2 separate regions of the Homo sapiens genome follow, and region 2 is linked to region 1. Evidence: promoter capture Hi-C in 16 types of primary human blood cells and fetal thymus (Javierre and others, 2016). All regions are on one chromosome and are shown on one strand. Each heading gives the region's core, a stretch centred on a gene start or on the middle of the fragment in contact. The rest is flanking DNA. Distances are from core to core; before and after follow the strand shown.

Region 1 (7,504 bases), core at 3,458-5,957:
TCACATTCAACGTTCCACTGAGAACACAACACATGCAGCAACCACTATCCAATTAAATTCTCATTAACTGTTACAAAATTAATTAGTTTCAATACAGTCCACTTACTTGGTATAATTCTTACTACTGGAGTGAGGAAAAATGAATTACAATAAGTTTCTGTAGACAGTAAAAAATGCCTGTAAGTAAAACATGAAAGAAGTTATTAAGCAAAAATACAGCTCATTTCTGGTACTGAATAATACAATGGCACCAGATCTTTAATCAATTGGAAAGTTATACAGAACTAATTAAGATATATTATTTTGAAAACAATGTACTACATACTAAAAACTGTATATCTTGATAAATATGTGATTATATGCAAATTTCCACATTTCTTTGAAATGATTTACCTTCTATAGTTCTTTTTTTTTGAGACAGTCTCATGCCTGACCTATAGTTAAATCTTTTGACACCAAAATAGGACTATGAATCTGAATTAATTTATTCATCCATAAGGAAAGCAAGCATAATGAAAGCAAACCAAATTATAAACTTTTTGTTTTTGAGACCGAGTTTTGCTCTTGTTACCCAGGCTGGAGTGCAATGGCGCGATCTCAGCTCACTGCAACCTCTGCCTCCTGGGTTAAAGCGATTCTCCTGCCTCAGCCTCCCAAGTAGCTGGGATTACAGGCATGTGGCACCACACCGGGCTAATTTTTCTATTTTTAGCAGAGACGGGGTTTCACCATGTTGGCCAGGCTGGTCTCAAACTCCTGACCTCAGGTGATCCACCCACCTGGGCCTCCCAAAGTGCTGGGATTACAGGCGTGAGTCACCTTGCCTGGCCCAAATTATAAACTTTAAACTGTTACAGCCCTTATAGATTATTTATTTAAGAAATAAAAGATCGAGACCAGCCTGGCCAATATGGTGAAATCCCGTCTCTGCTAAAAATACAAAAATCAGCCGGGTGTGATGGTGCGCACCTGCAATCCCAGTTACTCAAGAGGCTGAGGCAGGAGAATGGCTTGAACCTGGGAGGCGGAGGGCTACAGTGAGCTGACATCGTGCCACTGCACTCCAGCCTGGGCAACAGAGCAAGACTCTCTCTCAAAAACAAAAAATCAAAACAAAACAAAAAAAGAAAAAAGTAAAAGTGATAATAATAATTTACTGACCACCAATTATGTACCAGGCTGTGAACATACTTTATCTCATTTAATCCTATGTAATCGTATGAGATGCAAAATTCACATCACCCTCTCAAAATTATAGTTCCTGTTATTGAGGAAACTGAGGCACAGTAAAGTCAAAGCTAGATACTCAGTAAATGCTGGGGTTGGGATTTGAATAAAGGTTTACCCAACTTTATTTATTAATCTATTTATTTATTTGAAACGGAGTCTTGCTCTGTCACCCAGGCTGGAGTGCAGTGGCACGATCTTGGCTCATTGCAACCTCTGCCTCCCCAGCTCAAGCGATTCTCCTGCTTCAGCCTCCTGAGTGGCCGGGATTACGGGCGCCCGCCAGCAGGAGGCTGGGATTACAGGTACCCGCCAGCACACCCAGCTAATTTTTGTATTTTTAGTAGAGACGGGGGTTTACTATGTTAGCCAGGCTGGTCTTGAACTCCTGACCTCAAGTGATCCGCCCACCTCAGCCTCCCAAAGTGCTGGGATTACAGGCACGAGGCACCGCGCCCGGCCTATAATGCTCTTAACACCAAGGTGATACACATGACAGGTGTTCTAGCTGAGGTGCACATACTATTTTTGCTGCTTCACTAAGTTCTGGGTATATCAGCACTGAAGTGATATAATACAGCAGGGAATGAGATAGTGCTTTTTCAGTTTATTTTATTTTTACTTTTTTTTCGGACAGAGTCTCGCTCTTTCGCCCAGGCTGGAGTGCAGTGGCGCTATCTTGGCTCACTGCAAGCTCCGCCTCCCGGGTTCATGCCATTCTCCTGCCTCAGCCTCCCAAGTAGCTGGGACAACAGGCGCCCGGCTAATTTTTTGTATTTTTAGTACAGACGGGGTTTCACCGTGTTAGCCAGGATGTTCTCGATCTCCTGACCTCGTGATCTGCCCGCCTCGGCCTCCCAAGGTGCTGGGATTACAGGCGTGAGCCACCGCGCCCGGCCTTTTCAGTTTATTAAGCATTTTCCTAACCCTTATTCTATTTCATCTTCAAAATGGTCCTGTGCGGTACATGGAGGAGTTACTATCAAACCCATTTACATTTTTACTGATGTGGAAACAGCCTTAGTGAAAGTTAAGTCAACTAATAAGTGGGAGAACCAGAGATGAAAATGCATGCACATCTTGCTTCCAGTTCTTAGCTACCAGTTGGGAGAAGGGGAACAGAATAGCCTAAAGAAACAGACAACCATGAAATGTACAGAAATGATACCAATATATAAAATACCTCACCTCGCCGGGTGCAGTGGTTCACGCCTGTAATCCCAGCACTTTGGGAGGCCGAGGCGAACAGATCACCTGAGGTCGGGAATTCAAGACTAGCCTGACCAACATGGGGAAACCCCGTCTCGACTGAAAATACAAAATTAGCCGGGCGTGGTGGCACATGCCTGTAATCTGAGCTACTCGGGAGGCTGAGGCATGAGAATCGCTTGAATCCGGGAGGCGGAGGTTGTGGTGACCCGAGATCACATCATTGTCCTCCAGCCTGGGTAACAGGAGTGAAACTCTGTCTAAAAAAGAAAGAAAGAAAGAAAAAAGAATAAAATCAAACGCCTCACCTAACAATGTAAACAATCATTCCTTGAGTAACCATCTCAATTCACTGCATTCAAAAATCAAAAAGAGAAGAGCTATTACGATTCATATAGCCCAAAGCTTCACACTTCATGTTCTAAATACTCTAAAAGTATCAGGGAGAACACTGAAAACACTCAGCCGAACATGTTAAGTAGTCTCTTGTTATTTCAGAATGCATCTCAAGTTCTTTGCAACTTGAAGAATAAAAGTAAGAAAAGGAAACCAAGCGTGGTATTAAAATCAACGTTGCAAGCTGGCCTGGATTCAGGCTGTTAGGTGAGAGGAGGAGGCACACGGATCAGGAAGGGTCTGACTCCTACTTAGGGCCGAACGATAACCAAATGTCTATCGGACTTCCTTTCAGCACAATGGTGATGCCTACTCAAGACCAAAAATGCTAACCATCCTTCATTTTAGCAATCATTTTTATGTGCCTTTTGTGTGCATAACAGCCTTGAAAAAACTTAGCTTTCTACTCAAGGATGTCATAAACATTTGCTCACTAGTCTTCTTAGCAGGAAGATTCTGAATCACAAGCAACCTATCACAGTCCCCCCTCCCTCTGAAATACAAACGACATATGTAACACGTGTCACTGCAGAAAAATCAGAAAAATGTTTAAAAATTTTTTATATCACCTAGAAACCAACATCTTTCCACCTGTCATTTTTTTCAACCAACAAGAAAGTCTATGCACAAAATAGAATACATACAACAGGCAGTCAGCAATCATCAAATAGATAAACGTTTCAAAAGGCCTTTCATGCAATGTATATTCTTCCTAATTGCTGTAAGACGTCTTTACAGTAAATAACTCCATTTTTAACGAGTTTAAAAAGAGTTAAGCTTTCTTTTTCGTTCTCATTAAAATAAGCATATGCTTTAAATTGTAAAAGAATTGAAACAAAAACATGTTGCAGGAGAGCCTGAACTAGAATCCACTACATGTCCAACGTGGAGGCAGTCTTTACTGCAATATCACACGGTCACTAAATACTTGATTCGCTATTTTTCAGTCCGGCATAAATCTTTCTCTTCGAAAAAAACAAAAAAGGCATAAACTGCTTCAAATGATTCGTTTCCCTAGACAGTACTTAAAGACAAAACCAAAAAAGGGGGTTTCTAAGCACCGTCACACGAGTGAGGCGACTCTCAGGCTGGAGGCTTTGGGCGCCAGCATCGACGCCTGCTCTCCGCGGCTACAACTCGTTGCGCGAGCCCGGGGATTCGCCGCCGGAGGTCACGAAGCCGCCGGGCAGGGCCGCAGCGCCAGCGAGGACCCAGGATCGTCCCGAGCCCGGACGCAGCCAGACAAATGCCCGTCGGAGGCGCAGGGCAGAAGTCCCTGGGACTTAGCCGCCTCCACCCCGGCGCCACGCACCAGCTTCGCCCGGGCCCAGAAGCCGGCGCCAAGGAGACTTCCAAGCCCCGACACCAAAGGTTCCGTAAAGACAACGGCAGCAGGGGGCCGAGGGGAGCCCGGCCAAGGCGTCCTGCGCAGGGGGTGGAACTGCCTTCGGGATGGGGGAGGGGAACGCCATCCCGCCATATAACGAAGGCAGAGTTTCCGTATAAAGGGAGCTCCGGTCTCTCCCGCCCTCTCCCGTTAGAAGATGCGCCCGCACGCCCGCGTCCCCTGGAGCAGTCCAGCGCCCGACCCACCCGCTCCTCCCTCACACTCACCAGTCAGTCCCCCGAGGCCCTCCCGGCCGGCCCACGCAGAGGCGGCGGCGGCCGAGAGCGCAGGCGGAGGGGCCGCGCGGTCCTTCCCGCGGACGCACGGCGGCGGGCAGCGCTGCTCCGGCCCTAGCGCTCCCGGACGCTGTGCTGGGCCGACCCCTCTCCCTCCCCGCGCGCCCCACGCCCTGAGCGCCAGGCCCCTGGCCTAGGCTCCGCGGCCGCACTGCCCTGGCCGCCACGCTCCGCGCCTGCGCCGCGCACCTCAGGGGCCCGCCGAGAGGGCGGGGAGGTGACGAGGTGAGGTGGGGGCAGGGAGCGGGCTGCGCGAACGCACCGCACACGCGGCCTGGGAGGGACCACCGGCCCGCAGCCCCGGGGGAGGCCCAGCGGCCCGCGCCCCCTGCCGGAGGCCTTGCGCCGCCGCAGTCTCCTTCTGGGCGGGGAAGAGCCCCTCCCGAGCCCCGAGGGCGATCCCACCCTCTAGGATTACTCCACGCCAGGCGGCCAGCGAATTTATCCCGCCCGCCTCCACCGCCCCTTCAAGCCCTGGGGAACTGGGAGAAACGTGGCGCGCAGCGGCACCTTTCCCACGCTGCTCCTCAAGGGAAAGGACGCGAGTGGTCTTGCCCAGGTTAGGCAAGGCAGATGGCATCTCAGACCCCGAAGTGTGCCAGCCGCCTGTTGGGGACAGAGAGGCCGAGGACCTCGTCACGGTTTTACTGAGGCCACACCAGAGAACCACCTAGGGCTAGGATGCTGCCCTCAGGGCAAGAGGGTGAAACCTGAAGACTGCGAGTCGTTGTTGAGTTTCACCCGATTCCTTGGCTCGAGAAATAGTGGAATGAATGAGGAGTTAAGGGGGACTGGACTCGACGATTTAAGTCCTTTCTCGACTTTGACTTTCTTTGAGCAGCTGTAGAAATGATTAAATTACACGAGCATAAATAAATTTGTGAACATGGTTCCATAAATGATCTCTGTGCAAGTGTGGTGATATGTTTAATTCAGTCCTTTTGACAATGAGTTGAGGTTTTTAGTCACATTTTACAAAATGGAAAAGTAAATGTGTGAGAAGCTAAAGACTGGGTCTTAATTCATTTTGGTAGCCTAAACCCCTGAGGTTCAAACGGTTAAGAGGATGACTGAGAGCCATGTGGATTATCAGGTACCCAAGGTCACTCGGATAGTTAGGGCTGCAATGATGTCTCTTTGTTCACGTCCACTGCTTTTTCTGACAACCACATGCCAATCAACCAATCAATCGCTGGAAAGTAATAATCACAGACTTTACTCTGATCCCTTCACCATCCCCCAGGAGATAAAGCTATATTTGAAAGAGACACTACTTGTTTGTGAGGCTCAGTTTTTATGACCTCCTAAGTTTTATGTGCGTACTCAGCTCAAATAAATGCTCACGAATGCTAGTATGGCCCGAATTAAAGTTCGAAGAAATGTAGAGACATTTTTAAATCCTAGAATAGTTAGTATCTAGCACAGAACCGGGAATCGGTGGAAACCACAAGGGGGTGTCATGCCACCATCTTACCATTTTGCCTTACCACATAGCCTTGTGTCCAACAAAATCTTTATATTTCAAAATGAAGTTTTACTCCAAAACATTTTGTAGTGAAAGTAAACGCACACTCTCCCCAGCATCCCACGTATTGTTTGCACTTAGAGGAGCTTGACTTTGTTTAGATGTTGTTTAACATAGTCACAAATTGCAAGCAATTTCAAGTTCTTGATTAGCTGGAGTGTTTTTCAGTTTCATTTTTGGGTCCCTCTTTTCCTCATCTCCCGCTCCAAGGGAGGGTGATAGCTGGGATAAAACCCTAAAATCTCAAGAGTGCTAAATTGTAGAGTTTGTTAAATACTATTATAAATTTGATTCAGGGCTATTAAAACATCGTTCTTCCAACTTTTTCACACACTTGTAGAATAGCTTAATTTCTCCTTCCTTTCCTTCCTTCCTTTTCTTTTTTTTCTTTTTTCTTTCTCACGGTCTCACTCTGTCGCCCAGGCTCCAGTACAGAGATGGGATATCGGCTCACTGCAATCTCCACCTCCTAAATTCAAGCAATTCTCGTGCCCCACCCTTCAGATTAGCTGAGATTACAGGCGCGAGCTGCCACACCTGGCTAATTTTTGTATATTTAGTGGTGCTGAGATTTCACCATATTGGCCAGGCTGGTCTTGAGCTTCTGGCATCAAGTGATCCGCCCGCCTTGGCCTCCTAAAGTGCTGGGATTACAGGCGCGAGTCACCGCGCCCGGCCACTTAATTTCTTCCTGATTAGAAAATAGTTACGTTTTTAGTACAGAATGGAGACAACAGAAAAGTACAAAGAGCAAAAGTAAATTTACCATAATCTCACAACCCTGAGCTCATCAATGGTAACATTTTGCTTTCTATCTTTCCGTTATTTTTATACCTATACTGACATAAAAATTTGTTTTCAAAATTAGAATATTGGCTGTGTTTTTTTCTAACAGGTTCTTTTTTCCAATTAGTATAGCACGAGCATTCTTTATGTTTTTTGTTTGTTTGTTTGTGTGTTTTTGAGACAGAGTCTTGCTCTTTCGCCCAGGCTGGAGTGCAATGACGTGATCTTGGCTCACTGCAACCTCCGCCTCCCAGATTCAAGCGATTCTCCTGCCTCATCCTCCGAGTAGCTGGGATTACAGGCGCGTGGCACCACACGGGGCTAATTTTTGTATTTTTAGTAGAGACGGGTTTCACCATGTTGGCCAGGCTGGTCTCAAACTCCTGACCTCAGGTGATCCGCCCACCTCGGCCTCCGAAAGTACTGGGATTACAGGCGTAATTGCAGTTTGTTGTTTTTTAATTTTGTTAGTGGTGCAAACATTTTAAATTGTAGTGAAAGCAAGTCTATTAATCTTTTCCTTTGCAAGTTCTATTTTTGGCCTTTTGCTGAGATAATCTTTTCTTCTATGCAGGATCTGGTTGCATTTTTTGCTTTAACTTTTTCGTTTGTCTACAATTTATTTTGGGATATGGGATGAAGAGAACTGGGTAAATCTGGACTAGGGCCTGAGTAGCT
Region 2 (7,504 bases), core at 1,695-4,194, 870 kb after region 1:
AGAAATGTACCACAGTACTGATACAACCACAATAAGGATGAACTTCAAACACACTATGATAAATGAAAGAAGCCAGACTCGAAAGGTTACATACTGTGTGTATGTGGTTGCCAGGGGCTGGAGTTGTGAGATTGACTATGAAAGGGCAACATGAAGAAATTTAGGGGGTGATGGAACTGTTCTATATCTTGATGGTGGTAGTGGTTACATTATGATATACAATTTTCAAAATTCACAAACAAGGTGAATTTTATTGTATGTAAATTACTCTTTAACAATAAAAGCAAAAATTATTGAACACCTGCTATGTGCTGTTGTTCCAGAAGTGAAAAGACAGACCAGGTTCTTGCTTCCTAGATCTTATATCCTTGTTCTGTGTTCACTCTTCTGTGTCCACAGTCAGCACTAAAGTCTATGTTCTTTTCGTCTTTTGCCTGCTCTAACCTTCTAAATTGATCCCCTTGTCTCCCAACTCTCCTCTTCTCCAATCCATTTTCAATAATGCTACCAAATGAATCTTTTTATGATGTCAACTTGATTATGCATCTTCCATGTGGCAGTGGATAGTTTCTATGATTTGTAGCCTTTTAGCTTCTTTGAAATACCTTTTCTGTGCTTGGAATTTCTCACATCAGGGTTTCCTAGATAGAAGCTAGAAATTCACTTTCCAGTCTCCCTTGCAGCTATGGTGCTGGCATACGACCTGGGCCAATCAGAAGAATATAAGCATGACTATGATTAGACAAAAAGCAATGGGAGGAAGGAGGTGCTGTGTGGAATTCATTTCTGTTGAGGGTGACAGGAATGGCTTTCTTAGAGTACTGGGGGAGGTTTTGCTGCCTAGTGCCCAGGGTCTTGATGTGACCGCTAGAGTATGTGCTCAGTGGTCTTTGCTGGAGTCTCTAAGTCTGGACTCACAGTCTCTGCCAGAGTGTCTCTGAACTACTTAATATTCTTTAATAAATTCTTCTTTTTCTCCTTAAGCTAGAGTGGTTACTGTTTTTCACTTACTTTGCCTCTGAATCTCAATAGATACACCTATGTATAAGCCTTCAAAGACTTCCCATCACCTTAGGAAAAAAATCAGTACTTTTAACTATGGCATCTAAGGCCTTCAACATAGAGTTCATACATACTTTCCAGTTTAAACTGTTCTCAATGTGCTCTATGTTTTAGTCACCCTAAACTTGCTGTTTGTCCAACACTTCATTCTCATTTATACCTTCATGCCTTTGCAGATGATGTTCCCTTTGTTTAGTATAAGTTTTCCTTTTTTCTCACCACTTTGTAACCCTCTCTTCATGTTGCCCTTATTTACCCTTCAATTCCATTCAAAATCTATCTCAAATACCACGAGCTCAAATGCCCTTTGTGAAGCCTTCCTTGATATCCTTAACATGGTCCCAGCGCCCAAGAGCTGTTTGCTTCCTCCTGTATCTGAGAACTTCTTGTATTGTATTATGATGTTTTGTTCATTTAGTCATTCATTCAATAATAATTATTGAGCAAATACCATGTGCCAGGCACAGAGCTAAAATCTGAATGATAAGTAGGAGTTAATTAGGTAAAAATGGAGTAGAGTGTGTTCCCACAGAGATCAGCATGGAAAGTGGGCAGGCAGCTCATGAAGAGTGTGAGCCTCCAAGTGAGGGCAAGTGTAGTGGCCAGGGCTGAGGAGCAGGTGTGCCCCCTTCAGTCTTCTGCAAGTCCTTTGAGGCAGGAGCCCAGTTTTACTCACCTTTGTGCCTCTAGTGAAGCCAATCAGGCATGGAGTTGACATTCAATGAAGGGTTATTGAATTAATAAATAAATCACCAGATCATGTCTCTCCCTAAAACATTTATTTGATGCTTGAACCAGAGGAGATAATTTAGGCTTAATTTCCTGTGCATCAAATCATTGTCAGGACATAAGTATTACCTTTAATTAGCAAGCAAAGTCTCCCACTTCCTCACACTAATAATCCAGTGTTGCATTGATGTAATAGTGGCAGACCAACTTCAAAAGTGTTTTCTTGGATAATTGTTTGGGTGTCATCGGTTTACTTATCTTTAAAAGCCTATTAACACAGCAGATATCTCCAATCTGCTTTTTCATGTGATTCTGTCATCATAGCAACCTCACAAATCAACTCTCTGATGTGTCTTAACATTATAGCTTGGGCAAAATGAGGGAAAATAATTTTCTGATCATTACACAGAAAACCAGTGTCACAATAAGAGCCATTTCTTCCCAGACCTTTCTTTCATGGCCAAGGGTCATCTTTTAATAAAAGAGGTATTAAGTGAGGCAAGAGCTGCATGTTTAAATCAATCTGTGTGCAGTAAGTGTCGATACCTCCTTTAGCCCTATATCCATGGGATACAGAACAGCCACTTCCTGGCGAGGGTGAAACTGGAGGCACCAAGCTTCAATGTCATCCACAGGGCTTGGAATGTAAATACATGTCATTGCTGCTTTGGATAGTTTTGAAACCCTCTCCTACCATCAGATAGCAATGTCTTTCCTTTGATTTGGTACCAAAATTAAGCTGAATTTTAATCACCTCCTTAATGCTTAACTTCACAGAGAAACAGACTGAGTATTAGGGATATCTTTCTGATGTTTTCAATGAACCAGAGGCACAGACTTTGCTGTCATCTTCAGCCAAGGACAAATTGTAATTGGCAAGGCTGGCAAATTGCTTCTTCTTATTGGAAACTGCCATTGGCACATTAGATTGAAAATAAGATCCTTCCTGTATGGAGGTGATGTGGTTCTTTACCATGCAGCTGTAAGTGAAAAGTTGTTTTTCTAAACTAATGTTTATAGAGGTAATTCAGTTTGTGATACTAAGGGATATAAATTTGGGATATTACTGAGAATGATTCAGCTTTCATTTTTTACTTGAACTCCTGCAGTTGCCCTTTTTTCTTCCTCCTTAAACGTGTGATGGTACATCCGTCTTGTTAGGAACATGCTCAGAGGATAAAAATGAGCAGTCTTCCTTAAGAGGAAAGTGAGAATTGAAAGGCGGAATATGCCATCATCACAAACATTGCACCCAGATGACAGACATGGGACTTCATACTGACACCATTAATCATGATGGGGCCCTGTGGCTGTCTGCTACACAGCTCTCAGCTAGACTTACTTTGATATGTCTAAGAGGCTCATTTTTGGATGTTAAAGGTGGTTGGCTCTGTGCTCTGTTTTAGTGGAGACTCGGGGCAATGGGAGTCTCTTTCCTAGCCCGAATACAAGGCACCCACACTATTTTCTAATTAATAAGCAAGGTATTAACAAGTTTCTGAAACAGAATATAAAATGTTCTTCAGGTGCAATCAGCATTGTACTCACTCATAGCTAAATAAATAAATAAATAAAGGGCTAACTTCATAAGACAGAGATGGTAAAACTTGAGAATCTATTTTTTATAGTCCTATTGATCCTTTCAGAACTCCTTACTGTCTTTTACATCTGTACCAGAGAAAAGCTTTATAAACAGCCATTGTGATACAGCAGAAACAGTAAAATTTGGAAGCAGTTGGCTGTGCAAATCAGGCTCTACTAAGATGAGACAAAATTGTGTGGTTAATGGACTTTTGCCATGGCACTTGGTGTTCATCAAAATCTAAGGAAAATTTTGTCCTCAAAGGAAATATGAAAAGTTAAAGTCAGCATTCAGATGTCCTAATAGTGCCACCCTAAGATCTTGGGTTCCAGTTTCTTTAACTATGTCCTCCTAATCAGTGGGCTTTGAAGTCAGCATGCTGGGCTTTCCATCAGGGCCTCACCACTTACTGTTATGTAGCTTTCAGCAAGTTATTTGACCTCAATTGCTTTATCTCTAAAATGGGGATAATAGCAGTATGGTATGGTTTGGCTCTGTGTCCCCACCCAAATGTCATCTTGTAGCTCCCATAATTCCCATGTGTTGTGGGAGGGACGCAGTGAGGGATGACTGAATTATGTGGGTGGGTCTTTCCTATACTGTTCTTGTGCTAGTCAATGGGTCTCATGAGATCTGATAGTTTTAAAAAACGGGAGTTGCTCTGCACAAACTCTCTCTTTGCCTGCAGCTATCCATATAAGATGTGACTTGCTCCTCCTTGCCCTCCAACGTGCTTGTGAGGCCTCTCCAGCCATGTGAAACTGTAAGTCCGATTAAACCTCTTTCTTTTGTAAATTGCCCAGTTTCGAGTATGTCTTTATTGGTAGCATGAAAATGGGCTAATACACAGTATCTACCTCATTTTTGTGAGGATGAAATAATACCTGCTAAATACTTAACACACAGTGCCTGGCTTATGATGAGGACTCAATAATAGTGACTATTTTCTTGATCTTGTAATATCTGTACAAGTAGAAAATTCATGCCTCTAAACTCCAGTCCTATAGCTAGGATTTGGTTTAATGGTCAGTCTTCCTGATGTCAAGAGTTACCTACCTGATGTTCCTGAAGTGTTTTGGGGTATCAGGTGGTAAGTGGACTCACTGCCTGTCACTCTAATTGAATGGTATCTATAGGCCAAGGGAGCCTGAAAAAGCACTCAGGAATTAACTCACTGTGAGACAAATGCTTTGTGTGTATATGTGTATGAGGAGGAAGCAAGTGTGGGATTAAATTCCTGAAAGATGTGAAATTGCATGGTTAATAACTTTGGGCATCTTTGTGGTCAGGTATTGATTATTTTAGTCAAAGGCAAAGCATTATTGAAAGAATCATCCAAAGTATGAAATTGTGAGTCTTTGAGGGGATATGCGGAGATACTAATACCAATTCAATAAATACAGAAAGCGTTGAAGGTTGATCTGTGTGATCTGCTCATGAATTACATAAGCATTTACTGTAGATATCAGCCTGAATGGAGCACTGTAATTATTTGCTAACATGGCTGATTAATGATGAGCTCCTTGAGAGAAGGAACATAGCTTATTTGCTTTTGAATTCCTGATGTTGGCCTAGTACCTGGCACATAGTAGGTGCTCGATAAATGTTGGCCAAATGAATGAAAGAGTGAATAAATGAGGCCTGAGAGAAAAATTTCTTTACAAGTCAGATGGGGGCTGCATGGTGTAAAGTTTTGTTTTATTCTTGGGTGAACTCATCCTCCCTTCCCTACCCTTGAGGAATCCAGATCAAAGTAAGGCTTTCTGTCTTTGATGTTTCTATTCTCTTGGGAAGCTATCAACTTTTATATTCTGAGCAGAGATAATCTTCTGATTTGGAAGTAAGTCATATAAGAAACCTGGAAATGGAATAAATTTATACAAAAGTCTGGAATACCATTATATCATTGCTAGTTATACCTTATCCAGTATTGTGGGTGAGATCGTGTTTCATTCTGGTAGTGATTAATCCACTGAGTCAAAGATTGGAATACTTACTACAAACGGTATGGCTGGATCCCTCTGTCATTCTTTAGAGCCATCAACTCATTTTTAAGTAAATAATCATTATTAGCATGGATGTGTAAGATTAAGTGAGTATATGGAAGTGCCTGAATTTCAGAATTAATGGAACAGAATTTCTTCAAGAAAGAAATTATAGGCAGGATGCCAATACTTGTGAGCAACAGTTAAAGAAGTGGAAGCACTTTTTGCTATTGATGAGGTGATTCTGGACAGTGAATCAGTGGTTCTTCCATGTTACGTTGTCGAGGAGACAGTTATAGACATATTTTTCTACATAAACATCTTAAATTGCCTGAATCTTTCTTTTTAATGTTGAAACAATTATGCTAATGAACCAATCTGAAATTGCACAGAACTTTCTGACTCTCAGAAAGTTTCCATGTCTTCTAGAAATGTAGGTACTTCAGGAACTCTGTGCTAGGTCTGAGATCATAATGAGAGCCACTTCCAATAGAGTGTGCTGATACAGATCGCAGAGGTACAATTAGGATTTACAAACGCATAATTGTATAAAAAGTCAGGGGCAATGAGCTGGAAAATTTTCCATGTATTTCTCCTTGTGAGATCATGTAGCTTTCTTAGTTCTTTTCGAGATTAAGTTAAAACTTAATGACAACCTTAACTTATTGGAACTGGTATAATAATTCAGAGATCAAGAGCAAGGGGTATTTTTAAAGGATTATGATTACATTCAAAACCTGTAATTTTCTACCTCTCTTTTTGTGGTAATGAAAAATTATAATCCTGAAACACTGTTGGAGAGGTAAGGCCTGTCTGGATACACCTGTGCTTCACAATTTGAACTGTTCTCTCACCTGCAAAAGGAGATTAGCTAGATGATTAGCTAATATCCTTAGGTCTAACATCCTAAGGATGCAGGATTTTATGTCCCGTGAAGTTTCATTTCTGGGAATATCCAAAGAACAGATGCTCACAACAAGAAAAACATGCATTGGCGTGATGGTGATATATTCACCTGCATAGGACCAAGAAGTCTTTAATTAAAGGATTGATTGATTTAGAATAAGACAATATTCTTTCATTAGGTGAGTTCTTTTTGTTGTCTCTGGTGTTCCTAATAGTATATTGGCAATTGTGCTGGGCAAGTAATGCTGACACAGTCAATGTTTCCTTCAAACATGTCAAAGGAAAGTGCCTTGAAGCTCTTCTCTCTTTTTCCACACTCAAGCTCCTGCCATCTCTATCCCTACTATGTCGTTTCCTGATTGACTTTTCCAGAAACCAGAGCCTCCCATTCCAGCATTATAGACCTATTCTTCACCATGAGTATATTGTAACTTTTATAGCTCAAGTCCATTCATTTTAAATCACAAAGTTGTAAAACCCAAAGGTTGGAGGTTAATAGAGAGATCATCTGTAGTAATACCTTAATTCTTTGAGGGTTCCTGTTTAATCATGGCATGTGGATCAGGGATCCAGATGCAGATGCCTCCCCAGCTGAACTAGCAAATACTCCAACCCCAGCTCTCTCTTCAGACTGGGCCTATGCAGCCAACCAGAGAATTGGCCTAGATATTGTGTAGATAGGTGAATCTCTCCCACAGAGTCAGAGGGGACTGCAGCTCTTGGGGACCCATCTTGTATCCCCTTCTCAGAGAAGAATACAAAATTAGGCTGGAACAGGAAGAAGGAAGTCTACTGAGTTATCACCTGAGAACTTCAGTCAAGCCTTGGGAAGAAGGTAGACTTGAGCTACACAGAAATCTGCATTAAAAATTATCCAAAATGGCTCTCCTGTGCAAATAAGCCATTCAGTTGTTTAATAAGACATTTTAGACAAGAAGATAATGGATAAAATATAGATATTACTGCCCCAAGGTATTGATTGTACTTAAAATGACAAAGCCTAAAAATTTAGTGACAGTATCCTATGAAGAGGAAATATAAACCCTGAGTATCTTTTTAGAAGATAGAAATAAAGCATGCTATTTTCAGTTGTAGACTCTTGGTTATGATTTCCTGAATAGTAGATAACATATAGCCAGAATGTGTTGGCAAGCTTTCCTAAGTGAGGCAATATGTACATATAGTTTTAATGTGTTTGAACATAAACACAAGTATACAGAAGATGGAAAAAGAAAATAGA

The links. The method cuts DNA at HindIII sites, captures the fragments that hold promoters and counts their contacts. A CHiCAGO score of 5 or more calls a contact.
Region 2: a fragment that was not itself captured here is called in contact with the fragment with the promoter of ZNF639 in region 1 in 1 of 17 cell types (endothelial precursors); the score reaches 6.0 in endothelial precursors.

The regions. Positions count from the first base shown.
Region 1 is chr3:179,320,234-179,327,737 of GRCh38, reverse strand. ZNF639 (zinc finger protein 639) reads right to left here and starts at 4,707. Exons shown (of 6, transcript NM_001303426.2): 1 at 4,447-4,707; 2 at 107-177. RefSeq lists enhancers at 2,607-2,706, 3,748-3,797 and silencers at 4,368-4,507, 4,538-4,977. The HindIII fragment of the contact is 4,241 bases long and covers 3,612-7,504 here.
Region 2 is chr3:178,446,178-178,453,681 of GRCh38, reverse strand. All of the region lies in intron 1 of LINC01014 (long intergenic non-protein coding RNA 1014), which reads right to left. Among named protein-coding and RNA genes, the nearest start is that of LINC01014, 31 kb to the right of the region's middle. The HindIII fragment of the contact is 1,067 bases long and covers 2,411-3,477 here.